Linked DNA regions of Homo sapiens: regions 1, 2, 3, 4, 5 and 7 are each linked to region 6. The links are contacts of gene promoters, found by promoter capture Hi-C in blood cells and fetal thymus (Javierre and others, 2016). All regions are on one chromosome and are shown on one strand. Each heading gives the region's core, a stretch centred on a gene start or on the middle of the fragment in contact. The rest is flanking DNA. Distances are from core to core; before and after follow the strand shown.

The links. The method cuts DNA at HindIII sites, captures the fragments that hold promoters and counts their contacts. A CHiCAGO score of 5 or more calls a contact.
Region 1: a contact is called between a fragment that was not itself captured here and the fragment with the promoter of ALG8 in region 6, in 1 of 17 cell types (activated CD4 T cells). The highest score is 5.8, in activated CD4 T cells.
Region 2: a contact is called between a fragment that was not itself captured here and the fragment with the promoter of ALG8 in region 6, in 5 of 17 cell types (monocytes, naive CD4 T cells, total B cells and 2 more). The highest score is 7.1, in monocytes.
Region 3: a contact is called between a fragment that was not itself captured here and the fragment with the promoter of ALG8 in region 6, in 1 of 17 cell types (naive B cells). The highest score is 5.8, in naive B cells.
Region 4: a contact is called between a fragment that was not itself captured here and the fragment with the promoter of ALG8 in region 6, in 1 of 17 cell types (naive CD4 T cells). The highest score is 6.0, in naive CD4 T cells.
Region 5: a contact is called between a fragment that was not itself captured here and the fragment with the promoter of ALG8 in region 6, in 4 of 17 cell types (megakaryocytes, fetal thymus, erythroblasts and 1 more). The highest score is 6.2, in megakaryocytes.
Region 7: a fragment that was not itself captured here is called in contact with the fragment with the promoter of ALG8 in region 6 in 6 of 17 cell types (monocytes, fetal thymus, neutrophils and 3 more); the score reaches 11.6 in monocytes.

Annotation. Positions count from the first base shown.
Region 1 is chr11:77,628,272-77,631,088 of GRCh38, reverse strand. CLNS1A (chloride nucleotide-sensitive channel 1A) reads left to right here. Exons shown (of 7, transcript NM_001293.3): 2 at 1,190-1,326. Among named protein-coding and RNA genes, the nearest start is that of CLNS1A, 8.1 kb to the left of the region's middle. The HindIII fragment of the contact is 4,039 bases long and covers 1-2,817 here.
Region 2 is chr11:78,525,927-78,528,746 of GRCh38, reverse strand. All of the region lies in intron 6 of NARS2 (asparaginyl-tRNA synthetase 2, mitochondrial), which reads left to right. Among named protein-coding and RNA genes, the nearest start is that of NARS2-AS1, 5.8 kb to the left of the region's middle. The HindIII fragment of the contact is 2,418 bases long and covers 42-2,459 here.
Region 3 is chr11:78,542,372-78,545,071 of GRCh38, reverse strand. All of the region lies in intron 5 of NARS2 (asparaginyl-tRNA synthetase 2, mitochondrial), which reads left to right. All of the region lies in intron 1 of NARS2-AS1 (NARS2 antisense RNA 1), which reads right to left. Among named protein-coding and RNA genes, the nearest start is that of NARS2-AS1, 11 kb to the right of the region's middle. The HindIII fragment of the contact is 4,377 bases long and covers 1-2,700 here.
Region 4 is chr11:78,474,004-78,476,703 of GRCh38, reverse strand. All of the region lies in intron 9 of NARS2 (asparaginyl-tRNA synthetase 2, mitochondrial), which reads left to right. The region is part of intron 1 of LOC105369403 (a long non-coding RNA gene); the gene reads right to left. Among named protein-coding and RNA genes, the nearest start is that of LINC02728, 46 kb to the right of the region's middle. The HindIII fragment of the contact is 8,270 bases long and covers 1-2,700 here.
Region 5 is chr11:78,503,656-78,506,355 of GRCh38, reverse strand. All of the region lies in intron 6 of NARS2 (asparaginyl-tRNA synthetase 2, mitochondrial), which reads left to right. Among named protein-coding and RNA genes, the nearest start is that of NARS2-AS1, 28 kb to the left of the region's middle. The HindIII fragment of the contact is 1,027 bases long and covers 786-1,812 here.
Region 6 is chr11:78,138,098-78,140,944 of GRCh38, reverse strand. ALG8 (ALG8 alpha-1,3-glucosyltransferase) reads left to right here and starts at 1,319. Exons shown (of 13, transcript NM_024079.5): 1 at 1,319-1,451. The coding sequence starts at 1,357. KCTD21-AS1 (KCTD21 antisense RNA 1) reads right to left here and starts at 1,152. Exons shown (of 3, transcript NR_102281.1): 1 at 873-1,152. RefSeq lists enhancers at 1-586, 747-856, 1,467-1,546, 1,627-1,736. The HindIII fragment of the contact is 5,506 bases long and covers 1-1,588 here.
Region 7 is chr11:78,583,922-78,586,621 of GRCh38, reverse strand. No RefSeq gene overlaps it. Among named protein-coding and RNA genes, the nearest start is that of NARS2, 10 kb to the right of the region's middle. The HindIII fragment of the contact is 6,128 bases long and covers 1-2,700 here.

The DNA.
Region 1 (2,817 bases), core at 134-2,633, 510 kb after region 6:
TTTTACTTTTGTTTTTGCTTGGTTAGAAATTAGACAGCCAGGCTTGTTAAAATTGTATAGAATATAGAATGATACAGGGGTCTTACTTCATTAACTTTTAAAAATAATTCATATAGCATACAGTTTAACCATTTAAACATACAATTCACTAGTTTTTAGTCTGTTTACAGAATTGTGCAATTATCACCACCATTTTAGAATATTTTCTTCACCCCAAAAAGAACCTGGTACCCAGTAGCAGACATTCCCTATTTCCTTCTAGCCCTAGGCAACCACTATATTGCATTAACATTTTTTTTTTGACTTCTTCAGGATTTTTTACTTTTTTTCTGCTAAGTGGTACAGCTCCAGATGGATGAAGTATTATCAGAAAATTAGCTAGCCTCTACTGAAAGCTCAAAATACTGATTTTGGTGATGTGTTTCCTTTGTTACACCAATAAAATATTTGCATTTGACCACATTTGAGGGAAAACTAGATCTAGCTTTTCTGTGGCTTTCTCTTAAAGACGTTGAATAAATGAAAGGCTTCAGGGAATCTGTCTCTCAGGGTAATAATTATTTCCTGACTTGCGGTGAGTGTGATTACAGCCATTTCATATATATGTCTTTTAGTGTAGGATTCATGGAGAAATGCATGATTACCAAGGATTTATTGCATACTTAACTCCTGAGCTCTTTGTTAACGGTTTTGAAGGATGTTAATAAAGGAATGTGACAAGTTCTGCTGTCCGATAGTTCACATTCCATAAGGGCACATATAAGACTCATTACCACAGAGTTAAGTGCTAAAATTTGCAAATCAGAAAAGGAAGAGATCTTTATGGACTGGTGTAGTTGAAGGGAGGCCTCATGGAAGAGGGGAGGATTTGCAAAAGCAAAGAGGGTATTTGAAGACATACCAAAAAAGAGTAAGCATGAAAGTCATAGAAACATACATGTGACTGAGGAAAATGGAATTTCAAGTCTGTTTGAATTTATAGCTAGAGGGAAAGAGACCGTAACAGAATTGATCTTAAAGAAAACTCAGTTTCCACTACTGAATTTTCTTATTTTATGAACGTTTCTAAAAAAGTAAACTTGAATTTATTTATATGCATAAAGGTGTCCAAGCTGAACTTTTATATACTTTGTGGTCTTACATGAGGATTTACTTTCTAAAAATAATCTACTTAAAACATGTTTTTCAGCCGCCTGTCTTGGTTAGATGGCTCTGGATTAGGATTCTCACTGGAATACCCCACCATTAGTTTACATGCATTATCCAGGGACCGAAGTGACTGTCTAGGAGAGCATTTGTATGTTATGGTGAATGCCAAATTTGAAGGTATGTATGGTGTAATTTAATCTAATGCCTCCTTTGATAGCAAATTATATTTTAAAAAAGAGTCTTTGAGGCCGGGCACGGTGGCTCACGCCTGTAATCCCAGCACTCTGGGAGGCCGAGGCGGGCGGATCACAAGGTCAGGAGATCGAGACCATCCTGGCTAATACGGTGAAAACCCGTCTCTACTAAAAAATACAAAAAATTAGCCAGGCGTGGTGGTGGGCGCCTGTAGTCCCAGCTACTCAGGAGACTGAGGCAGGAGAATGGTGTGAACCTGGGAGGTGGAGCTTGTAGTGAGCCGAGATCATGCCACTGCACTCCAGCCTGGGCGACAAAGTGAGACTCCGTCTAAAAAAAAAAAAAGAAAAAAAAGAGTCTTTGATAATAATCAATGTAACATTGAGGCCATTGACTCATTTTGGGTAGTAGTTTATTAAGCAAAATTTCAGCACAGCAACTTGGACACTTGAAGTTTTCACAATGGATGTTCATGTGTGTCTGTATATATTTCTCTATATTTACACTTAGAATTCTTCATTTATTATGGATATGTATTTCTAGCTTTTCCTCTAAAGTTTCACTGTTTATTCTGCCTTTCTCTTTTTAAAAGGCACCCTTAGGGGCTTGGATCAGTATACCCTGTGCTTCTCATAATTTAAGATAGAACTGTTTTGTTTTGTTTCAGTAGTGGGTCTCAGTGGTTGTAGGGGGGATATATTTTCCATGGGCCTCCACCAACCTCACCATTCCCCCACATTTGGCAGTGACATTTTGGTTGAAAGAGGAAGGGTATTATTGGTGTCTAGCAGTTAGATGCCAAGGATGCTATTATTATACTAAATATTCTGCTATGCACAGATGGTCCCCCACAACAAAGAATTATTCCATCCAAATGTCAGTAGTGCCAAGGTTGAGAAACTGTAGGATATAAAGATTCTCAAGTTTTGCTTTGGGATAATTGCAAAGACTTGTAAAAGTCTAGTGAAGATGCTCATGTTTAAAATAACGGGTTGCTTTTCTTTGAAGTAGTGTGTAAGAGACAATCCTATGAAGTTACCTACAAGGCTATTGCTCTTTCAAATTTAGATTTTAATATGGTTCCAGATATAATATGATCATTTATATTCAGGTGTGAAACTATTTAGTAATTCTTAGGACTTTTGGCAAGACCTGCCTCATTAAGTGGTAATGACTGATTCAGCTATCTGAAAATATTTTTGTTATAAGATTTCAAATTCTTGCCATTGGAAAAGGTTCAAAGACATTTAAAAATCTAGTGAAGTTTGAAAAAGAGGATGAGGAAAAGTAAAAGGCTGTTAACCTTGGGGTGTAGTAGTGTAGTAAGACTTCCTAATAAGGCATTTGGCACAAAATTTACTCTCCATCTAAGTAAATGCAACTATGATTTTATAACCAAGAATATTATGTGTCATGTTTAGTTTAAAGCATTCATTCATTTGCAGAAATGCGAAACCTTGCTCTTGTCAGTCA
Region 2 (2,820 bases), core at 1-2,500, 390 kb before region 6:
TTTATCATTAGTTCACTTGAATTTTCCAAAATATTTAAGCTTCTTACTTGTAGTACAGACTTTTGTTTTTAGTGAAAAATGTAACACTGAAAATACAAAGTTGTCATTTTTTTCTTTTTACTAATTTTTCTTGCTTGAATCCCAAACATGTAATCAGAATTTATTTAAATTAATCATATTTATGGAAGTAAAGGCAATTTATAGTTTATACCTGAACCGGGTATTAGTCTATTTCATTTTAAAGAGAGTAGTATTTGAAACAGACGGAATAATTTTTTTTTCAGTAATTGGTTTAAATAAAATTAACTCATACCTACATTTTGAGAGGTGTACAGCAAATTACATCTTTTAAGTCAGATCAAATGAATTTTAGCAACTGTCAGACCTCTGGAAAGTCACTGTATTCCTTGGGGCCTACCTTTTCTTTAAAACGGGATTGAGAAAGAAGACCTTTAAAATCCTGTCTAAATCTTATATTCTGTAATTCTGTGGGTAATTCCCATTTATTTTTATTTTTTTTAGAGGTGGGATCTCGCTTATTGCCCAGGCTGGAGTGTAGTTGCACAGTCATAGCTCACAAACTCCTGGGCTCAAGTGATTCTCCTGCCTCAGCCTTCTGAGTAGCTGGGACTACAGGTATATACCACCAAACCTGGCTAATTGTTTGTAGAGATGGGGTCTTGCTATGTACCAAGGCTGATCTCAAACTCTAGGCTCAAGTGATCTTCCTGCCTTAGGCCTCCCAAGTAACTGGAACTCAAGGCATGTGCCAGCACACTTAGCTAATTTTTAAAATTTTTTGTAGAGGTGGGTTCTCACCATGTGTCCTAGGCTGGTCTCAAACTCTTGACTCAAGTGGTTCTTCCGCCTCAGCCTCCCAAAGCACTGGGATTACAAGCAGGAGCCACTGAGCCTGGCCTCTGGGGGTAATTTGTTAATGCAGACTCATCAAGTACTGAGTTTTCTTTATGTATCTTTTTCTTTAAATATTTTCTCATTATAGAGATTAGGACTTAAAAAAATCTTTTCTGGAAATAGCTCACTTGAAAGGAAGGGAATCTTTTGGTGTTTTCCATTGTTTTAAAAATGCACAGATGAGAAAACTCAAGGAAAATGTAATAGAATAGTTTGCATATTTACTTTTGTACTTTGCTAGAAGAATGGAAAGTCAGTGGTGGAATAAAGATGGTCTTGAAAGTAACATGTTCTTTTCTGATTTATCTTTGAAACAAAAATATGTTATTTGATAGTTCCAATAACCAAATGACTGGCAATATTAGCAGAATACTATGCAGAAAAAGTGTCATAATAACATGGTGAGATTATAGGATTTGCAGATCTGGATGTAGGAAAGGCCGTGTCAAGCCTGTCATGGAATGTTCTTATGCCTACGGAATTATAATTTAAAAAAATTAAAAACATGACTCATTCAAATACAAAATGAATTTGTATCAAAGTTTTCATTCAGTTGATTATATTACAGAGGAAACAAGTAAAATAGAAAACTGTTTCAAAGAGCATCTGAAGACCTCTGTATTTATAGACATTTTAATAGTTGGAATAAGAGTGCTAGGTCAGTTATAAACTGGTTAATGTCCTACAGGACCAACACACCCTAAACTTTGGGATTATCTCTTCTACCTGGTAGAGTTATTTGCAACTCTGCTGGGAAAGATCTGTAAATTAGCGTGTAACTTCACTTAATACGGGTTATTTAATTCAATATTAAATAGACTAATGGAACAAGTACATTTCCCTTTCCCTAAGTAATTAAGTAATCGTCGAATGGGCCTTTGTCCCCTCATTGTGTAATACCTTGAAAGGACATCACCTTTTTAAGGCTACAGCTTTTGGCCTTATATTCAAGGTTTGGATAACCTTTCTTAACAGCCTTTTAGTATTCATTTCTATTATTTATAAAGTTAGAAGCAAGGTGTCTCATCCCTCAGAAGTGTCATATGTGAAATATATAAACTTAGCAAATGTTTGTTTCTCTATTATAATACCACTAGTGTATTAAATATGCCTCTTTCCCAGTAAAGCGCAGTGAACCACAGAACACAGTGTTCTGTGAAACTTGACGGAAGATTAAATTGGTAGAATACTAGGTTTTGTATTTTTTAGTGTGCCATGAAGTATTTGTACTACTGTCATTCAAATGTTCCTAGTTTAATATGCACAGTTCTAGGACTATTAATATGCAGAACATAATGTTTTTGATTAAAGTATGATTTATTCTCCAATAAGAAATTGTTAGTCCTTTTTCCCTCAGCTTTGTTTTTTCTTGAATTCAATTTAACAGACTTTGTAAAAGGCAAAAGATTTATGCAATCTGAAGAGAAACCAGAGTATTAACAGACTTTTAAAATGGAGAAAATGGTAGTTAAATTTAGACAGTTAACATTTTCCAAAAGGATATCTCTGTTGCTTTAGTGGGTTTATGGTTCCATTTTAAAGCTTTTTTTAAAGTAAATATTCTATGTTGGAATAATTTTTAATATATAGAAAGTTGAAAAGATAATGCATAGTTTTGTGTATTCTCTATCCAGTTTCCCCCATTGTAAACATCTTCCATGACCATGATACATTTGTCAAAACCAAGAATTAAATGTTATCACATTACTATTAATGAAGCTCTAGACTTTATTTGGATTTCACCAGCTTTTCCATCAATACCCTTATTCTTTTTCCAGGATCCAATTCAGGGTACCACATAAAACTTAGTTGTCATGTTTCCCCAGTCTCTTCCATTCTATTACAGTTTCTCAATTTTTCTTTTTTACGACCTGTGGAATGTACTCTAATCTGGGTGTGTCTGAC
Region 3 (2,700 bases), core at 143-2,642, 400 kb before region 6:
AGCCTTTATATAGAGATATAAAGAACTGCTGACTTTGACCACTATAAATTAGGACTTAAACAGGTGTGTTATATTGGTGACTCACATATCATGAACAGTTTGCTATTTGTGATGAGAATACTGGAGTGCAGTGGCGCGATCTCACCTCACTGCAACCTCTGCCTCCCGTGTTCAAGCAATTCTTCTGCCTCAGCCTCCTGAGTAGCTGGGATTACAGGTGCCCACCACCACGCGCAGCTAATTTTCTGTATCCTTTTTTTTTTTTTTTTTTTTTTTGTGAGACGGAGTCTCGCTCTATCGCCCAGGCTGGAGTGCAGTGGCACGATCTTGGCTTACTGCAAACTCCGTCTCCCAGGTTCACGCCGTTCTCCTGCCTCAGCCTCCCGAGTAGCTGGGACTACAGGCACCCACCACCGCGCCTGGCTAATTTTTTGTATTTTTAGTAGAGACGGGGTTTCACCGTGTTAGCCAGGATGGTCTCGATCTCCTGACCTCAAGTGATCTGCCTGCCTCAGTCTCCCAAGTGCTGGGATTACAGGCATGAGCTACTGCGCTCAGCCGGTAACTCATTCTTGATAAGAGTTCCGCATGAAAGTATTAGCTTTCCCTTGATTTACATGGAAGATGCATTCTGGAAAATTCAGAGCATATTAAAATAATACAATTTACCTAATTCACTAACATGAATGTTCCATTGCATATTTGAAACTTGGGGTAGTACCCACTAAATTTCAGTAGCTCTCCCCAGTTATGACAACCAGAAACATTCCCTCTAAAAAGGACTTTTTAGGCCATTATAAGAATATTGGCTGTGAGTCTTTGGAGAGTTATAAGCAAAGGAGTAATAAATCACTTATATTTTAATGAGATCATTCTGGCTGCTATATGGAGATTAAATCAGGGAGAGGTACAGAAGAAGAGAAACCAGTTAAAAGTCTAATGCTGTATTTTAGGTGGACAGATAGTGATTTACACAGGAGTTGAAATTGTACATCCTCAAATGTGGTTGGATTCTGGAGAGTGAGAGAGAGTTTTTTTTTTTTTTTTTTTTTTGAGACAGAGTCTTACTCTGTTGCCAGGCTAGAGTGCAGTGGCACAATCTTGGCTCCACCTCCCGGGTTCAAGCGATTCTCCTGCCTCAGCCTCCCGAGTAGCTGGGACTACAGGTGCGCGCCACCACGCCCAGCTAATTTTTGTAGTTTTAGTAGAGACGGGTTTTCACCATGTCGGCCAGGATGGTCTCAATCTCTTGACCTCGTGGTCTGCCCGCCTTGGCCTCCCAAAGTGCTAGGATTACAGCCATGAGCCTCTCTGCCTGGCCGGATTCTGGATATATTTAGAAAGTAGCTTATGCATCTTGGATCTTGGTACCAGGGTACATGTTTTTTGTTTTTGTTGTATCTATTCCTGCTGTGTATTTTCCCAGAAGTGATTATGTTGAATAGTTCACCTCTGCTAGACTTTTGAACTTTTAATATAGAGAGAATTATTTTTTTTCCTACAAATGGTTATTTCCATTGCTAATTAAAAGTAGAAAAGTAGCGTTTCTTCTTTTTAAAAAACATGAACTTTCATGTTGCTAGTCTGGACATTAGAATTCAAGTAATCATAAATGAAAAGAAAATGTCAGCTTCATAAACACTGGAAAGTTTTTTGAGTTTATACTCTTTAGGGCCAATACCATCTAATTATTAGGGGAAATTGGTTTTTGTTGGAAATTAGACATTTATTTTATGCATGCCATCTTTGAAGGAAGCATTCCATGGCATTGTTGACTTCAAGAGACACTTTGATCTCAAAAAATGATGTGAATCCCTTTTGGATAATCTTTGGATAGCATCAAAATCGTGACTTTTATATGAGTATGCTTTATAATGGCTTATTCTTTTTTTTTGACACGTAGTTTTGCTCTGTTGCCCAGGCTAGAGTGCAGTGGCACCATCTCAGCCCACTGCAACCTCTGCCTCCTGGGTTCAAGCAGTTCTTGTGCCTCAGCCTCCCTAGTGGCTGGGATTACAGGCACCCACCACCGTACTTGGCTAACTTACTCTTGATTACCACAGCCAGAGGTAAAGGGCAACCAAGCCCTTCTGTTCCAGTTATCAATAACTTAACTTCCTCCTTGCAGCAACTGCAAGAAAGTATATTTTGTGGGGGGGTTTGTTTTGACCCAAGGTCTCGCTCTGTCGCCCTGTTGGGAGTGCAGTGATGAGCCAGCGATCATGGCTGTCTGCAGCCTTGACCTCCTGAGCTCAAGTGATCCACCCACTCCAGCCTCTAGAGTTACTAAAACTACAGGTGCGCACCACCACACCCAGCTAATTTTTAAAGTAGAGTCAGGGTCTCACTATGTTGCTCAGGCTGGTCTTGAACTCCTGGTCTCAAGCAATCCTCCTGCCTCCACCCCACCGAAGTGCTGGGATTTATAAGTATTTATTGAGTACCTGCTGTGTTTAGTGGTAGTCAAGTCCTTTGTGTGGATACGTGGTTTGGAGACTTAACTCTGGAGCATAGGTATCCCTTCTCACAGAAGTCCTAGTTAACGGACTAGGACCATATCTTATCATATTCATCCTTAAAGCCCCAATCTGACAATGAATAAGCCAAAATTAATATTTTTCAAGCAATAGTGAAAAAAAGTTTGGTTCATTTTTCACCGACCCCTTTACATTTAGGAATAAGTTTGCTGTTTTGCAATTT
Region 4 (2,700 bases), core at 23-2,522, 340 kb before region 6:
ATTCTGCATACTACAAATCATAGTTGCAGTTTAAATTTGTGGGGAGAGGGACATCAGCAAGATGATGAATAGAGGGTCCCAGCCTTCACCACAGAAAGTCCATTTGGCAACTAGTCACATACAAGAACACCTTTTTGAAAATCCCAAAATTTGGGAATGAAATTGAGACACGCAGATGGACCACAGAGCAAAAAGTGCATTAGAAGGGTAGGAGCAATGGTCTCAGTTTGACTGAATCCTCCCTTCCCTAAGTAGGCACAATACCACACACAGAAGATTCCCCTTGGCACACAGTTAATGCAGTGGAAAAAGAGACAGCTATCCAGTTTCCCCAGCATTCTGTGATGCTTCCTAGGAGGCCCATTCCTGTCTCACAGGGAACCCTGGGGGTAAGGCCTAGACTACCAGGGGTCAAGTAGGAACAAAGGAGTGGGGCAGTGCTCACAGCAACCAGTACACGGATCTTAGTCATAGCTGTGTTCCTGCCAGCAGTAGCACCTGATCAGAGATACCAGCCAGTGGCATAGCCCATTTACAAAGCCTAGCTGGTTGCTGCAGAAGCTCAGTAGGAAAGTCTATCTGGTTTGAGCCCCTACAGGGCAGCCACCCCACCTAGCCTCAGCATCCACCCCCATGCTTTGCTCAGGCAGGCAGACATCACAAATGTTTTACATTTGTGTAAGATACAGATGGCCAATAGGTTTATCAAAAAGTGTCCAACATCACTAATCAATAAAATGCAAATTAAAACCGCACTGAGATAACCACTCACACCTGTTAGAATGGCTGTTATCAAAAAGTAGAATGAGACACGTTGGCTCATGCCTGTAGTCTCAGCACTTTGGGAGGCTGAGGTGGGAGGATCACTTGAACCCAGGAGTTCAGGACCACCCTGGCCAACTTAGTGAGACCCTGTCTCTACAAAAAATAAATAAATAAATTAGTCAGGTGTGGTGACATGTGCCTGTAGTGCCAGCTACTCAGGAGACTAAGGTGGGAGGATTGCCTAAGCCCAGGAGGTTGAGTTTTCAGTGAGCTATGATCACAGACGCTGCTGCACTCCAGCCTGGGAGACAGAGCAAGACCTTGTCTCAAAAAAAAAAAAAAAAAAAAAAAAAAAAAAGTCAAATGATAACAGGTGTTGGCAAAGATGTGGCGCTTGGGAACCCTTTTATAACTGTTAGTGGCAATGTAAATTAGTAGAGCTATTATGGAGGATAGTATGGGAGGTTTCTCAAAAAACCAAAAGTATATTTACCATATGATTCAGCCATCCTACCTCTGGGTACATATGCAGAACTGAAGTCAGTATGTCAAAGAGATATCTGCACTTACATGTTCTTTGCAGCACTATTCATAGTAGCCAAGATATGGAATCAACCTAAGTGTCCATCAGTAGGTGACTGGATAAAGTAAATGTGTATATATATACACAGTGGAATACTATTCAAAGGAAATCTTATTTGTGACAGCATGGATCAACCTGGAAGACTTAATGCTAAGTGAAAGAAGCTAGGCACAGAAAGACAAATACTGCATGATTCACTTTGATGTGAAATGTAATAAAGTTAACACTACAGAAGTAGTGAGTAGAATGGTAGTTACCAGTGGCCGGTGAGGGGTTCTTGAAGGGAATGGAAAGAAATTGTCCAAGGGGTACAAAGTTTCAGTTAGACCAGAGGAATAAGTGTTCAGGATTTATTGCATAACAAAGTGACCATAATTAATTGTAATGTATATCTCAAAATTGCTAAAGGAGTAGATTTTAAATCTTCTCACTGCAAAAAAAAAAGTGAAGCATGTGAGACGATAGATATGTTAATTACCTTGATATATTCATCCCACAGTGTATAATACCAAAAACACATTGTATCCTGTAAATACATAAAATATTTGTCAATTAAAAATTCAGACATTTTTAAATAAATGTATATGTGTGATTATTTGATTGGTATCTACTACCTCTGTGATGTCAGAGGCTATGTTTAAATTGCTTACTCTTATACCCCCAGGACTTAGCCCAGTGCCTTTAACAGGAACTCAGTAAATACTGAGTAATTGAGTGGACAAACAAGTGACTTGAGTAACTGTGGCTGTAAAGGTATTCTTTAGGCTGGATCCTCTCCTGAGGTTTCTTATTGGCTAATATCACTATTTATTTCAGTCACTGAGGGTAGTGAACCATGATTCAGAAAACCTGGATTCTAATCCTGGCCCTACCATTTACTAGCCATTAATGAGTAAATTATTATTTTTTAACAAATATTTATTGACTGCCTAATATGAGTTAGGCACTTTGCTAGTTCTTGAGAATAATGAAAACAAACATTGATTTATTTTTTTATGGAGTTGAAAATCTAGAGAAAAAGATGAACAGTTAAATATTTATATGAATAATGTAATTACGACTATGAACTTGATTAATAGTGAATCTTTAACTTTTCTGAACTTCAGTTTCCTCATCTATAAAAAAATACTCTGCCTTATATTGTTGAAAGGATTTAATGACAATACTGTTAAAAGCAATATGTCAGACTAGGTAATTTGAAAACACTCTTTCTGCAAAACATCTAAAAATAATACTTAAAATATTATAAGATTCTTTTAAATACGTTGTTGAATTCACTAGAAAGTAGGAGAAGTTCCAGGTGCTAGAAATGAAGAAGGAACCAAACACCAGAGTGATATGGACAGTTGGTG
Region 5 (2,700 bases), core at 50-2,549, 370 kb before region 6:
GACATATGTTTTTATTTCCCTTGGGTAAATAACTAGGAATTAAGTTAATGCTTAACTTTGTAAGAATCTACCAAGTAATTTGCTGAAGTAATTGTATTATTTACATGCCCGCTAGCAGTGGATGAGGATGCCGGTTGGTCCACGTCTTTGACAAAAGATGATGTCGTATTTTTAATTATAGTCATTCTAGTGAGTATAGGATATGTCATTGTGGTTTTAAATTGTATTTCTGTAGTGACCAGTACTGTTGAACATTTTTTTCATGTGCTTACTGGCTGTTCATATATCTTGTTTTTGAACTATCTTTTCAATTTTTTTCATCCAATTTTTACTAGGTTGTTTGTTTTATTATTGGGTTGTAAGAGTTCTTTATATATTCTGGATACAAGCCCTTTATCAGATATAGGTGGTGTACTTTTTTTCCCCAGTCTGCCTTTTCTTTCCATTTTAAAATAGTTTTTTTGAAGACCAGAAGCTTCTTATTCTGTTAGTGTATTATAGTCTTTTTCTTATGTGGTTCATGAATTTCTTTATCCTGTCCAAAAGATTGCCAACATTTTTCTTCCATGTTTTTTCCTAGGGATTTTATATCTTAGCTTGTATTTTTAGGTCAGGGAAGACCCTGCTAGTCTATAAACTTTTTGAAGGTACAGGCCATACCTGATTTACCTCTGTATTTTCCACAGTGATTAGTAGTCTAATAAATATTTGTTGAATGAATAAATCAATATGACTTCAGGTAGATAATGATGATAAGATACAGACAGATAGCTAGGCCCTAAGCTTCTGTATCCATTCCTTCTTTGCTGCTATAACCTGTGAGCTTGAATTACTTCCATGCTTTTGATTTAGTTCACCAGTATATTCTAGTTGGGGGGAAAAATCAGTTAAAAAAAAAAAACTCCATCAGAAAATGCATTTAAAAACTTGAAATACTATGCTATTGGATCTGTTAGGATATCTTAAAGTACCCTTATTATGTGAAACTGAAATTTCTTTTTCTCTTTTAACATAAGATATATACATACGTATGTGTGTGTGTGTGTGTGTGTGTGTGTGTGTGTGTGTGTGTGTGTGTGTGTGTGTATTTTGTTTTCTTTAAGAGACAAGGTTTCATTATGTTGCCCAGGCTGGTCTCAAACTCCTAGGGTGAAGTGATCCTCCCTCCTCAGTCTCCCAAACTGTTGGAACTACAGACATGAGCTACCACTCCTGGCTTCATTTTACATTTTCATGCAGTGGGTGTGAATTTCTCTTGCTATGAATTCAGAAAATTTAGTGGTTTTTTTTTTTTTAAGTCAAAATTGTAAAAATTTACCTGTGAACTGTGTGCATGAATTATAGAAACCACGGAAACATTTCCGTGTATTTTACTTCACTGAAACCCACTAACAACCTTAAGTGCAGTTCTGGGGGCAGAGCTGGGGCATCTAAACAAGGACACTTTAAAGAGTGAAAGGGAGGGCTGATAACAGTTATTCTGGAGCAGTCAGCATAAAATGGTTTTTTCCTGGGCAAACCAAGACCTGTGATCACCCTAAAGTTGATAGATACGAACAGATTAAATTTCTCTCTTCACCGGTGTTATATTTGCTTGTTTTTAGGGAACCACTTAATAGAAATGCCTCATAGGCTGTAGAAGATGTGCTGTAACAAAGACTGTAGGAAAAAATAATATGTGTATGTGTGTTTGTATGTGTTTTACAGAAAATAAAAGGAAATTTTATCTTTGCTCCTTTAGAAAAAATTGCCAATAAATTCAGTCATGGTTTTCCTTCCCTCTCACAAGTAAAAGCTGATAACAAATAAGCTTAGTCACATGTATTCGTTGCTAGCCACATTAGTTTTATTTATTTTGATGTCAATTCCTATTTTATTTCCCACATATACCCTACACAGAAAAAAAAAAAAAAAAAAAAAACTGGTGTTTTGCCACATGAAACAGGTGTAAGGGACGGATAAACAGACATGTGTCACATAGATCTTTACAGTTGGAGAATATGCAAAACCCAAGCCAGCCTTATTTCACATTTAAGAGGTGGATTTAGCATGTGAATTAGGATAAAGATCAGGAGGTAGAGACTTGTTTTTTGTTTCTGGAACATTCTTTAGGGACTTTTATTTAGTTTCTTCAACTGGGTAATTATTCTGGGCTTTCCTCCTGATTCTCCTTTAGGACAATATGGTGTGAAGTTCAGTGGAAAAATTTGAATTTTAGGCAGATAGTATTTTAGGGACTACTGTAGAAAGAGTTATCTCAGAAGTTTTCTTAGCCAAAATATATGTATGATTTGATGATACTGGTATTTCCTATATAGCTGTGGAGGGTTGGCTGTAACTTGGGAATTTGGAGATAACGGTTCAAATAGTTCAACCCAGAGTTTCTCTGCCTTTTGTATAGGTCATCCCATGATCCTATCATTAAGAGTGTTCATTTTTAGTATTCATGCAGCCTACAAGGCCTGGCATGGCAGAGCATGCCATTCTTCCTCTTCTTCCTTCTCCTCCTCCTCCTCCTTCTTACTCCTCCAATTCAGGGAAAATGAAGAGGGATTTTTCATATATTCTTTCTATAGGCTAACTCCTTCTGTAAAAGCAGTTTGCCTATTTCTACTTTTTGATGGTTCCTTTGTGCTTTTATGTTCATAAACCAAGCTCTGTTTGATTTGGAGTCTGTCAAGAGTATTAGAAAATTTTTAT
Region 6 (2,847 bases), core at 70-2,569:
TGCTGAGCTAGAAATCTGTGAATCATATTCACATGGGTGGCAGCTGAAGCTGTGGGAGGGCATAAACTCATATTAGGGAGGTGACACTGTCACCTACTTGCTGTGCATCTTTCAGCAAGATAATTAACTGATCTGACACATTATTGAGCATTTATTCTGTCCTGGAATCATATCAAGCAATTTACATGCATTCTCATTTAATCCTCACAACCAGTTTATGAGGCTGAAACTTTTTTTTTTTTAGACCAAAAGCATCTTGGATAAACAGGCCTGAGGCTTGCCCAGGCTGAAGTGCAATGGCGCGATCTCAGCTCACTGCAACCTCCGCCTCCCACGTTCACGCGATTCTCTAGCTTCAGCCTCCCGAGTAGGTGGAATTACAAGCGCCCGCCACCATGCACGGCTAATTTTTTTTTAATTTTTAGTAGAGACAGGGTTTCACCATATTGGCCAGGCTGATCTCAAACTCCTGAACTCAGGTGATTCGCCCACCTCGGCCTCCCAGTGTTGGGATTACAGGCGTGAGCCACCGCGTCCGGCCAGAAACCATTTTTATCTCCTATTTTCAAAAATAAATAAATAAATAAAAATTTTAAAAAAAGAAACTGAGGTTTAGAGTTTAGTTTGTCCAAGATCATACAGTAAAATAATGAGACAAGCCTAATTAAATTGCATGTGCCTCAGTCATTACGCAATCTGCGAGTTTGTTGGGCCTACTGAATCAGAATCCGAATTATTTTAACATGAACCGTAGGCTATTTGTACACTAAGCGTTAGGACTAGCCTCTACCCTGCTTCCAGAATGGGTTCCGCTCAAGCAGGAGGTGAGCCAAGAGCCTCGCTCAGAGTTCTAAAAACACAATGTTTCTCACCTCTGTATCTTTGCACATGCCATTCTCTAGCTGGATTTAATACTCCGGTGCAAGCGTCCAGGTTGGGAGCCCCCGCAGTTCTCTGAGGTACTTTTATCTACTGTAACTCTAGGGCAACAATCCTGGCTTCTCCACTAGTGCGTGAACGTCTCTAGCGTTAAGTTTTTTTCTCACCTAAGTATCCCCAATACTACACAGTGATGACCCAGCGCAAACGACCACTCTTTCAACGCAAGCATGAACTAGCTGATAAAACTTAAAAGTGGCTACAAACGCCTGCGCAGGAGCCCTTCCGGCCCGGGGTGAGACGCGGGTCTAAAGAAAAGGTGGGCGGGAGGTTTAAATAGCTGACTGCAGTCCCCGGACTGGCTGCGCCGCTCGCCGCATGCGCGCAGCTAGCGGGCACGGCTTCAGAGGGCTTTCTCCGCATGCGCGGGATCCCGGATGTGGATCAAGTTGGTGGGAAGCGTGCGGTGCCGCAGCAATGGCGGCGCTCACAATTGCCACGGGTACTGGCAATTGGTTTTCGGCTTTGGCGCTCGGGGTGACTCTTCTCAAATGCCTTCTCATCCCCACATAGTAAGGGACTCGCACGGCCAGGGGCTGGGCGGGGAGGCCCCGCGGTCGGTCAGGGCGGGAGAGAAAGGTGTGGATATCCCTGGGTATGAAGAGAAAACTTTAGGTCGTGTTTGTCGCTATCCTGCCTTTGCTAAGCTTTCTGTTTCGCCAGTTGTTACTTGACTTAGCCCCAGCTGGCTAGGTTCAGACCTGGCGCTGTCTGATTTGGAACAAATCACTTTAACGTTTCTGAACCTCAGGGTCCTCATCCTTAATAGGCAGTTAAGAACCTCTGCCTCCAACAGCCATTCAGCCAGTATTATCAGATGCCTGAGGTGCCAGGTACCGTTCTAACTCCCGGGAGATGCGGTGGTGAGCAAGACATTGCTGGTCCTTGCCCTCGAAGTTGGTGGGTGGAGCTAGACAAACAGGAACTTTTCAGATTGTGATAAAGGAAATAGAGGGTTACTAAGTGGCTGTGCGCTATTCCTTTAGAAGGTGATGTTTGAGTTGAAATTCAAAAAATGAAAAAGAATAAGTGATGTGGAAAGCAGTTCAGGCATAGGAAAGAGTAAGTTCAAAGGCCCTGTGGCAGGAAAGAAGTCAGAGCATTCTAGGAACAGAAAGTGCCCCTTGTGGCTGCAGAGCATTGAGGGAGAGGAGTGGCACAGCATGGGGTGCACTGGGGACAGATAACACAGGGTTTCGAAGACCACAGTTAGACTGCTGTGTAAAAAATGGATGTAGGGCCAAGACTGAAAGCGTGGAAACCAAGAAGCAACCATGAAATGGTGGTGTGTATACAGTAGGTACTCAGTATTTATTAATATTGGCTTCCGCCTTCCCTTCATCCTTCCTCTTTTTTCTTTTTCTCCCTCATCCCTTTTCTCCTTTCCCTCCCACTTCCTAGTTTAGGGTTTGTTTTATTGGTATCCTTTGATTCAGGCTCTTGGTGATCTCTTGTTGAATATGGGAGAGTCATATGTATAGAATGTAAGTCCATACTGATGCGTATATGTAATCATGTAAGTGGAATGTATATGTAGATTCAGTAAAATGATTAACTGTAGGTCTGTGCATAAGATTATTTCTTGCTTTAGTTGCCTCAGGCTAGAAATGTATCCTCAGAGTTGTTTTTTTTGTTTGTTATTTTTTTTTTTTTTGAGACAGTCTCGTCCCACTCTGTCACCCAGGCTGGAGTACAGTGGCACGATCTCAGCTTACTGCAACCTCTGCCTCCCGGGTTCAAACGATTCTCCTGCCTCAGCCTCCGGAGTAGCTGGGATTACAGGCTTGCACCACCGCGCCAGGCTAATTTTTGTATTTTTAGTAGAGATGGGGTTTCACCATGATGGCGGAGGGCTGATCTCAAATCTCCTGACCTCAAGTGATCCACCTGCCTCGGCCTCCCATAATG
Region 7 (2,700 bases), core at 129-2,628, 450 kb before region 6:
CCAGCAAAGTCAAATGATTCACTTCTGCAGATTTAAAATTATGAATGGCAGTACTATCTTATAGCAAAACATCAAAACACATTTCTTAGAACAGTTAAACTACAGCCAAGTAGTCATCATTTTATTTTATTTTTTAATTTTAATTTAGTGAAAGGTACTTTTTTTTTTTTTTTGAGATGGAGTCTTTCTCTGTCACCCAGGCTGGAGTGCAATGGCGCAATCTCAGCTCACTGCAACCTCCGCCTCCTGGGTTCAAGTGATTCTCCTGCCTCAGCCTCCCTAGTAGCTGTGACTACAGGCGCCCGCCACCACACCCAGCTAATTTTTTGAGTTTTTTTAGTGGAGAAGGGGTTTCATCGTGTTAGCCAGGATGGTTTTGATGTCCTGACCTCATGATCCACCTGCCTCGGCCTCCCAAAGTGCTGGGATTACAGGAGTGAGGTACTGTTTATTTTAATGAAGTCATATGATTTGCCAGATCTAAGCATATGAAATTATCAGTGAACAAAAAATAAAAAATAAAAAATCTATGTCTTTATGACATTCACATAGTGAGCAAAAGAAAAGATTCTGGAACCAGACTATGAGAGTTTGAATCCTAATATTTGCTGTTTATCATCTAAGGGACCCTGGGCAACCTACTTAAACTCTTGTCTCTCAGCTGCCTTATCTATAAAATGAGGATGATAAAAGTGCATACCCTTTGGTCTTAATGATGAAATAAACATAGCTTATGGAATGTCTAATAGATTATTTCATTTGCTAATTTTGACAACCCTGTGAGGCAAATATTATCTCCGTCTCACAGAAGTAACTCATCCCTTACCTATGACAGCAAAAGTCCTTGCCCATAGTGACCTGGCTAGTACATGGTGAAGCCAGAATTATTTTACCCTGCTCACTGCACAACCAACATAATTTTTTTTTAAGAGACAGAGTTTTGCTCTGTTGCCCAGACTGGAGTGCAGTGGCATGATCATAGCTCACTGTAACTTTGAACTCTCAGGCTGAAGCAATCCTCTTGCCTTAGCCAGAGTAGCTAGGACTATAGGTGTGCACCACCATGCGTAGCTATTTCATTTAAAATTTTTTTTTTTTTTTTTTTTTTTGCAGAAATGGGCTCTCACTATGTCACCCAGGCTGGTCTTGAACTCCAGGCCTCAAGCCATCCTCCTGCCTCGGCTTCCCAAAGTGCTAGGAATACAGGCATGAGCCACTGCACCTGGCCTGAACATAGTATTTTTAAAGTAAACTTTTAATTGAAGTTTAACATACAGTTTATATACATAAAAGCATAGAAATAATGAAGTTTACAAAGTGAATACACCCATATATCTACCTCCCTTCCAGATCAAGAAGTAGAAATTACCATCACCCAGAAGCCTCCCTTTTCATTCCTCCCACTCTTTCCCTAAAGTTAAGTATTTTTCTGGCTTTTATCACTATAGATTAGTTTTTCCATTAGAATACTTTACATAAATGAATCATACAATATGTATTCTTTTGTGTCTGGCTTTTTTTCCTCTCAACTTTATGTTCATGAGCGTCATCCTTTTTTTTCCTTTTTGAGAGAGAGAGAGAGTGTGTGTGTGTGTGTGTTTGAGACAAGCTCTGCTCTTTCACACAGGCTGGAGTGTAGTGGCACACACACAGCTCACTGCAGCCTTGACCTCCTGGGCTTAGTCCATCCTCCTGCCTCAGCCTCCCATATAGCTGGGACTACAGGCACATGCCACCATGTCCAGCTATTTTATTTTATTTTATCATTATTATTTTTTTTTTTGTCGAGACAGGGTTTCACCATTTTGCCCAGGCTGATCTCAAACTTCTAGGCTTAAGTGACCTGCCCACATGGGCTTCCCAAAGTGCTGAGATTACAGGTTTGAGCCACCATGCCTGCTGAGTGTCATCCTTATTGGTGTGTGTAGCAGTATTCTACTCATTTTGATTCTAGTTACATAAATATACCATAATTTATTACCCATTCTTCTGTTTATAGTAATTATTACAGTGTACATTCTTGATATAATAAAAATCTACTCTAAACTAGTTTTCTATTTCCCATCCAATGCAAGGATCTTACAATGCTTTAATTTCATTTACCTCTTTCCTGATTTTTGTGCTATTGGGGTTGTATATTTAATTTTATATGTATTTTTAGCCTCACAAGACATTGTTATCATTGTTCTATACAGTCAATATTTGTTTAGATTTACCCACTTTTACCCTCCACTGTTCTTTATTCCTTCATGAGTTTTCACACTTTTCTCTGGGATTATTTGCCTTCTGCCTGAAGACCTCTGTAGTGTGGGTCTACTAATAATAAACTGTCTTAGCGTTTGTTTATCTGAAACCTCTTTTATTTAACCTTCACTACTGAGGGATATTTCTCAGGTATAGAAGTCTAGGTTGGCAGATATTTTCTTTCAGAATTTTAAAGATACCACTATTGTCTTTTGGTTCCATAATTGCTTTTGAAAAGTCAGCTGTCTGTCTTATTTATTACTCCTTTGAATTTAGTGAAACTATTTTTAAGATTTTCTCTTTTCTTTTTGTTTCCAGGAGTTTTACTATGTGCCTAGGAATAGAGTGTTTTGTTTTTTGTTTTTTATCCTGCTTGTGTTTGTAGAGTTTCTTGAGTCTGTGGTTTGATGTCTTTTACCAGTTTTGAAAATTCGTGGCTATGATCTCTTCAAGTAT